3 separate regions of the Homo sapiens genome follow, and all the other regions are linked to region 3. Evidence: promoter capture Hi-C in 16 types of primary human blood cells and fetal thymus (Javierre and others, 2016). All regions are on one chromosome and are shown on one strand. The core of a region is centred on a gene start or on the middle of the fragment in contact, and the rest is flanking DNA. Distances in the headings are between cores, read along the strand shown. Region 1 overlaps LMTK2 (lemur tyrosine kinase 2). Region 2 has its middle 6.6 kb from the start of TECPR1. Region 3 holds the start of SLC25A13 (solute carrier family 25 member 13).

The links. The method cuts DNA at HindIII sites, captures the fragments that hold promoters and counts their contacts. A CHiCAGO score of 5 or more calls a contact.
Region 1: a contact is called between a fragment that was not itself captured here and the fragment with the promoter of SLC25A13 in region 3, in 1 of 17 cell types (neutrophils). The highest score is 5.2, in neutrophils.
Region 2: a contact is called between a fragment that was not itself captured here and the fragment with the promoter of SLC25A13 in region 3, in 1 of 17 cell types (neutrophils). The highest score is 6.5, in neutrophils.

Annotation. Positions count from the first base shown.
Region 1 is chr7:98,140,682-98,143,381 of GRCh38, reverse strand. LMTK2 (lemur tyrosine kinase 2) reads right to left here. Exons shown (of 14, transcript NM_014916.4): 3 at 1,841-1,985. Among named protein-coding and RNA genes, the nearest start is that of LMTK2, 35 kb to the right of the region's middle. The HindIII fragment of the contact is 198 bases long and covers 1,234-1,431 here.
Region 2 is chr7:98,257,485-98,260,184 of GRCh38, reverse strand. No RefSeq gene overlaps it. Among named protein-coding and RNA genes, the nearest start is that of TECPR1, 6.6 kb to the right of the region's middle. The HindIII fragment of the contact is 4,932 bases long and covers 1-2,700 here.
Region 3 is chr7:96,320,769-96,323,468 of GRCh38, reverse strand. It overlaps SLC25A13 (solute carrier family 25 member 13), which reads left to right and starts at 1,371. Exons shown (of 18, transcript NM_014251.3): 1 at 1,371-1,527. The coding sequence starts at 1,513. RefSeq lists a silencer at 1,236-1,575. The HindIII fragment of the contact is 9,010 bases long and covers 1-2,700 here.

The DNA of each region.
Region 1 (2,700 bases), core at 83-2,582, 1.8 Mb before region 3:
GTGGTGTCTTTTTCTATACAGAATATTTCATTTTTGTAAATCAGATTTGGCAGTATGTTCCTTTATGGATTCTGGATTTGGTGCATGCTTGGAAAGGCCTCTCGTATCCCAAGATGATAAAAATATTCTGAGGGTATTCTACTCAGAGAAATTTAAAATAATTTCTTCCTACGGAGAGGGATATTAGGGTACAGGGCTTCAGTAAAACAGAAAGGGGTGTGTATATAAACAAAATTACAATGGCTGCCCAGGTCACCATAATTTCTCTTCTGCCTGCATCTGACTGTGCTCCCATCCATCCCCAGTAGATCCTGAAGAGAAGCTGTCTGTCTGTCCCCACCTTCCTGACCAGTGATGGCTCTGCATCCTGTGACTTAGGTGAAGACAACCAGAATGTCCCTCCAAAGGGTTTTCTTTCTGGTCCAAGGAGAGAGAGAAAGAAGCTCCTTTCCTCTATGGTTATAAAACTACAAGGGAATGGGTGTGGAGCTGCTGGCAGCCAACCTCCCTACTGAGCAGAGAAGCTGCCTAAGAGATTCAGCAGATATGCAAAGAGAAGAGAAAATCAGAAATGAATTAAAATGCTGATGATGTTCCAGGCCCTGGTTCTAGCTGTCTCCAAGGTCAGCTGAACCCCTGTTCTTCCTACGGTCTGGGTCCATGTGTCAGAAAATTCTCGTTTCCACTTAGGCTGATCTAATTTGGAATTCAGCTACTTGAAATGAATCCACCGGGGATCGACTATGGGCCTGTAAAAGCTCTGAGAAGTCTCTCCAGGTTTTTCTTAAGTATAAAGGAAAGCAAATTATCAAACAAGCAACAATAAAATATTTCCATTTAGAGTAAGTATACTTAAGTTATCCCAAGAATATATTAGACCTCCTTTTAAACTTCATTATTTTGGTTGGAGTAGGGGTATTGTTATTTACAGCAATTAAACACTCCAGGTTGTTTTTTTTAATGCTGCAAAATCTATAAATTTAAATATATTCTTACTTTACAAATATTTAAATGAAATGCACCAACTATGTCACGTTCCATCTGGCTTTTTCTTATAGTCATGCCTGCCTGCAGTGGCATCAGTTCGGGGGTTTATTCTGCCCTAGGCAGAGCCCACAGCGTGTGTCACACCAGAAAAGGTAGTCCTAGCATCTACAGACTTACACAGCCTTCTTGCGGCAATCTCAGAAAACCCTACTTCTTGAACCTACTTCTTTGGTCAAAGCAAAAGCTTAAAATATTTTTTAAAAGGTATTATTTTAATCACAGAATAAGAATTTCTTAAGACCACAAAAAGTTCTAACTCTAAAAAGGGCTTAAATTTCAAACTCTAAAAAAAAAAACTATAGTCACATTCTATTTTTCTAGTCACATTCTATTTTTTCACAAGACATCAACTAACACAGAACCAAACCTCTGTCTGAAGAAGCTTAGAAAAGTCAATCTGATTAACATATCCAAACTTTCCTCTCCTACCCAAATGCAGGGCATCCCAGTGGAAGCCAGCAGAGTCCTACTCAGCAAGGTCAGCCGTGGCCAGAACTAGCAGAGAAACCACCTCCAGAACAGAGCCTGGGAGTTCTGGCCAGGTGTTCAATGTCAATGAATCAAGGAGATTCGTTTTATTCTCATACCAGACCCAGGGTCCAGAAAGCAGAAGACAAAGCTATTGCAGGAATACAATGGGCCTGACCACTAGAATTCAGCTTCACTGGGAGCAGAAGGAAGAGAAATAAACCAAAGAGGAGATGGGCAGTCCAATATTTATGATGGCTAGGCTCCCATTCTCAGATCTCAGAAACAATTCATGAAAACGTGGCATTAGGCTGTATGGTCTTACCTACAGAAGGCTGGAATTGCGAGGGAGCTGGGAGTGAAATATTTGGTACTGAAAGTGTGAAGACCTCTGCTGGGGACTGAACAGAGGGAGTGTCTTCTGCTGGTGGTGTGAAATCTATCTCATCATCAAAATTATCTTCAAATTCCTAAAATGAAAGAGAGCAAGCATTAAAAACCATTGGCTAACATTTAAAATAGGAACATATTTGCACAATGATTTGGAACTTGCTGCCACAATTATTTTTTTCCAGTTTGTACTTAATGTTAAGTAAAAAGCATATGTAATTTTGTTCTCTGACTCCAAACAGCAGAATACATAAGACAGGAAAATAAATTATACATATTTCATGTAAGTTTTTAAACTGTTAGTTTGAAGTTAAATGCAATGGAATTTACACAAAAATAGTTTTCTAGGCTTAAAAATTTACTCTCAAATGACTACAGTTTAAGCAATTCTTTTTTTTTTTTTTTTTGAGACAAGGTTTTGCTCTGTTGCCTGGCTGGAGCACAGTGACTGGAGCACAGTGGCATGATCATGGCTCACTGCAGCCTGGACCTCCAGGAACCAAGTGAGCCGCCTACCTCAGCCTCCCGAGTAGCTGGGACCACAGGCACGCATCACCACGCCCAGGTAATTTTTTGAATTTTTTTTTTTTTTGTAGAGGCAGAGTCTCCCTATGTTGCCCAGGCTGATCTCAAGCAATCCTCCTGTCTTAGGCTCCAAAAGTGTTAGGATTACAGATGTTAGCCACAGCGCCTGGCCAAGCAATTCTTTTAATATTATTACTTTTGTGACATGATTCTTTGCATACTGAATCAAAATAAATCATTTTATTTTAAAGTTGTATATGCATTTCTAAT
Region 2 (2,700 bases), core at 163-2,662, 1.9 Mb before region 3:
GACAGAGTGAGACTCCGTCTCAAAAAAAAAAAAAAAAAAGTTAGTGGCTGGGTGCGGTGCCTCACGCCTGTAATCCCAGCACTTTGGGAGGCCGAGGCCGGCAGATCACAAGGTCAGGAGTTTGAGACCAGTCTGGCTCACATGGTGAAACCCTGTCTCTATTAAAAATACAAAAATTATCAAGGCGTGGTTGTGTGCGCCTGTAATCTCAGCTACTCGGGAGGCTGAAGCAGGAGAATCGCTTGAAACTGGAAGGCGGAGTTTGCAGTGAGCCAAGATCAGGCCACCACGCTCCAGGCTGGGCAACGAGAGCAAAACTCCATCTCAAAAAAAAAAAACAAAAAAATTAGCCAGGCATGGTGGTGCAGACCTATACTCCCAGCTACTCAAGAGGCTGGGATTAACCAGGCATAGTGGTGCAGACCTATACTCGCAGCTCCTCAAGAGGCTGGGGGTGGAGGATTGCTTGAGCCCAGGAGGTTGAGGCTACTGTGAACTATGATTATGCCACTGCACTCCAGCCTGGGTGACAGAGCGAGACCCCATCACACACACACACACACACACACACAAATCGTGTGATGCTGTCACTTGATAAGTTATCCCATTCATGTAAAATTAGGTGATTTGCTCCACCTCCCAGGCTCAAGTGATCCTCCCACCTCAGCCTCCCAAGTAGCTGGGACTACAGGCCCGCACCACCATGCCCAGCTAATTTTGTATTTTTTAGTAGAGACAGGTTTCACTATGTTGGCCAGGCTGGACCATATGTGCTTTGTAAAACCCTTCCTTAATTGTAAAACATAAGACACAGAGAAAAGCATATCAGACATAAATCTTGTGAATTATTGTAAAGCAAAACCTGACACCACCAAGGTCAAGCATGAGAATCTTGCCGGCCACGGCCAACCCTCTGTGTTCCTTTCCTGCCCCAAAGGCATCCACATCCTGGTTGTTGTAACATTATGCTAATCACCTCCTTGTCTTTATACATTTTTTTTTTTTGAGATGGAGTCTCGCTCTGTCGCCCAGGCTGGAGGGCAGTGGCGCCATCTCAGCTTACAGCAACCTCTGCCCCCTGGGTTTAAGCGATTCTTCTGCCTCAGCCTCCCAAATAGCTGGGATTACAGGCGCACACCACCACTCCCAGCTAATTTTTTGTATTTTTAGTAGAGATGGGATTTCACCATGTTGGCCAGGCTGGTCTCGAACTCCTGACCTTTTGATCCACCCACCTCGGCCTCCCAAAGTGCTAGGATTACAAGGGTGAGCCACCGCGCCTGGCCGTCTTTATACTTTTACTACCAAACATACACTCTCAAACACTATAATAAAGTTCTTGGCTGTTTTTGAAATTCACATGTCAATGGGATCACATATATTCTTTTGTGTTTGGTTTTTCTCTCCTTGGTGTATGTTCAAGACTCATTCATGTTGTTGCATTTAGTTGTACTTCATTGTTTTGTTACCAATAATATTACACTGTATTAGGTTGGTGCCAAAGAAATTGTGGTTTTTGTCATTACTTTTACTTATTTATTTATTTTAGAGGAGTCTTACTCTGTCACCCAGGCTGGGGTGCAGTGGTGTGGTGCGATCTTGGCTCACTGCAACCTCACCCCACCGTTGGGGTTCAAGTGATTCTCCTGCCTCAGCCTCCTGAGTAGCTGGGATTACAGGCATGCGCCACCATGCCCAATTAATTTTTGCATTTTCAGTAGAGATGAGGTTTTGCCATGTTGGCCAGGCTGGTCTCGAACTCCTGACTTCAGGTGATCCACCTGCCTCGGCCTCCCAAAGTGCTAGGATTACAGGCGTGAGCTACTATGCCTGGCCTTTTTTCTTTTTTTCTTTTTTCTTTTTTTTTGAGACGGAGTCTCACTCTGTTGCCCAGGCTGGAGTGTAGTTGCATGATCTCATCTCACTGCAACCTCCACCTCCTGGGTTCAAGCAATTTTCCTGCCTCAGCCTCCTGAGTAGATGGGATTACAGGTGTGTGCCACCATGCCCAGCTAATTTTTGTATTTTGAGCAGAGAGTTTTGCCATTTTGGCCAGGCTGGTCTCAAACTCCTGACCTCAAGTGATCTGCCCACCTCGGCCTCCCAAAGCGTTGGGATAACTGGTGTGAGCCATCGCACCCACCCTGTCATTACTTTTAATGGCCAAAACCACAAGTCCTTTTGCAGCAACCTAATGTGACTCCATCACACTGATCATGCATTCCACTACAGATGGACACCTGGGGCTGTTGTTACATAGAGAATGCTGGTAAGGTGTGTACGTACAGCACCTAAATCACTGCTGGGCCACAGCACAATCTTAGCTTCAGCTCTATGAGGTCATGTCACTGATTTCCCCAGTGATGGCACCAGCTCGTACTTCTACTCCCTTAGCCTGTCTGGCAGGCAACTCATTGTGGGTTTAATTTGCATTTTCCTGCTTATCGCTGTAGTTGAGCACTTCTTCATAAGTTTATTGACCATTTGTTTCTTTTTCTTCTTTCTTCTTTTTTCTTTCTTTTTTTTTTTTTTTTTGAGACAGAGTCTTGCCTTGTCACCCAGGCTGGAGTGCAGTGGCGCGATATCGGCTCACTGCAACCTCCGCTTCCCGGGTTCAAGCGATTCTCCTGTCTCGCCCTACCGAGTAGCTGGGACTACAGGCGCGTGCCACCACGCCCAGCTGATTTTTTTTATTTTTAG
Region 3 (2,700 bases), core at 122-2,621:
CCAAATCTCATCTTAAATTGTAGTTCCCATAATCCCCACATGTCATGGGAAGGACCCGGTGAGAGACAACGGAATCATGGGGGCGGTTACTCCCATGCTGTTCTTGTGATAGTGAGTTCTTATGAGATCTGATGGTTTTACAAGGGGCTTTCCCCCCTTTGCTTGGCACTCATTCTCTCTCCTGCAACCCTGTAAAGAGGTGCCTTCCACCACAACTGTAAGTTTCCTGAGGTCTCCCAAACCATGCGAAACTGAGTCAATTAAATCTTTTGGTTTATAAATTACCCAGTCTCAGGTATTTCTTCATAGTGGCATGAGAATTCTCAGTATTCTTATTGAGCCCTGGGAACAGTCTGCTGCCTTAACAGGTTATACTGAAGTAAACATTTATGTGTCTCTTTCCCAATAGCCCTGAAGCTGTTTAACGGTTGGAACCAGTTCTTAAGTCATTTCGGGGTTTCCAGCACCAAGCACAGTGCCTAGCACATAGTAGGAAGGCACTCAATCAACGTTAATGAATTAAACTGATTAGTAATAAGTGCTTTTTGCTGCCATATTACATCCACAACCTACAATACATTAAAAGTCCTTTTCCCTGATCACCACTGTCTTATAAATTTTGATTACAAGGACAGAAGAATGAAATCCTGATGAAGAGGAGTAAGGCCTGGAGGTCATATAAGCAAATTTTCATTAAAATGCTTGTTTATTTATTTTAGTAGGGCCTATTTGGGGGAAGTCTTTTGACCCGGGCCTTTTGACTTCTACCGTTTTAACAGGTAGGGCTGAAATGGAGTAGTTTCATGAATATACGTTCTGCACTACATTCACTTGTTGGGTTCTTAAGAGTTCACCGATTTTGATCTAAAAGTAGGCGTGCCAGCAATATTTGCAATCTCGCCTTCTAAGTCAATGCTTTTGGATCAAAGTCTTTTTGGATCCAGTGTAAAGTGGAGCTCCTTCAAAGGGAACGCACAGGGGAAAAAATATCCAGCAAAGTATGTGTCCTAGTGGAGTTCTCAACTTCCCCAGGCCGTGCACCATCTGTCGTTACTTGCCCCTCCCATCGGTCCGAGGGCCCAGTAGCCCCTGGTATCAGCAGAAGCCAGCAGCTTCCCTGGTGGGGCCACCTGCCCTCAGGTGACGGGCTTGCACACGGCCAAGTTACCTCTGCCCACGCCGCAGAGGCCGCCGCTGCTGGACAGCGCAGCGGGGTCACGTGTCCCTGTCCAGCCACTGCCCCAGGATCTGAGCCCTCCCCGGCTGCAGGGCAGAGGCCGCTGGATCACGCGCACCCCGGCGGCCAAGGCTGGGCCCAGCCAATGGGCGGGCAGCATCCACATGACCCGCGCCGGCGGGAGGGCGTGGGGAGGCAGGCCAGGAACGCACGCTGCCTGGCCGTATCGCCGCCCCCACCGCCGCCGCCGCCGGGACTAGAAGTGAGCCGCCCGGGTCCCAAACGCCAGCCAGCCAGTCAGTGGGTCCCGCAGTCGCCCGCAACCGGGGCGAATCATGGCGGCCGCCAAGGTAACCGCGGGCCCGAGGCCGGGGGGAGCGCGCCTGCCGGATCAGCCTGGGGGTGCGAGAGGCTCGGGCGCTCACGTGTCTGGGTTGGTGCCACAGGCGGAGCAAAATGGGGTGCCGGGCAGCCGTTCCACCTTGCGGCTGCTGGAGGGAGGGGGCCACTCCTCCCGGGCAGCACAGGCGGTCGGTGCAGAGACCGAGGCCCGACCTCGCAGCGGAAACTTTGTGGGCCGGACACTCCCACTTGGCCGGGGAGGGAAGTTGGTGCCTGACGGGGCTGAGCCAGGGCCGACGAGGAGGAGCGGGCGCGACTGGGGCCTGGTGCACCCTGGGCCGGCAAGCGCTGGGGGTCCTCTCTACCTTCCCAGCGCGCTCCTGCTCCTGACCCCGCTGGTTGTTGACTCCGGCTTCTTCCAGGGGCCAGAGCCCGGGCTGAAGCCTGATCCTATTACGTTTCAAGGGCTCCGCCCTCCCGCGGGTGGGGAAGTTACTTTGACTTCCGTTTTGGAAACTGCCTAGGAGACTTGGTCTGCGCCTTTGTGAATAAAAAGTCCAGGGACTCTCCCCCTCCCCGCTTTCCCATCATTCCCATCTTCCCCCTCCCTCTCTCCATCTGACAACACTTAGATACCCGCCTCGGAGCATTTGAGAGGCTTCTTTTTGGGAACGATGAAACAGATTGTCCTGGGAGCCTGTCACTCCTGTGAAGTTGTACTTGAAAGGGGTTCTGTGTAATGTGAATCATTCACTAACCCAGAGGAAAGGCAACTCCAACACTTGACCTTTCCTCTTTCACCATTTCTTGAAACCTGGACACCATTTCAGTCTCTTTGGACTGCATTTCAACTTCTCTGGCAGAATACCATATTTAGTCCCAATCACTTGAATCATTTGGAATTTATTGCTTTTAATTTAAGTTCACGAAGGCAGCCCTCTAATCAAGCCTATACAACTTCTTAGCTCATTTTAAGTGCAGTGAACTTAAATATACCTAACATTTCAAACATTTGTCCTTAATCAAAACTCTGTGATAACCCTCAAGAGGAAAACATGGCCAACACATCATATTCCTATTTATTCAAGCAAACTAATCACATTTGCAATGGAAATTGTAAGCAGACAAATATATTTAAATGCTGTTCTATGACTTAAGTCTCTCCAGGCTCCCCAAATCCG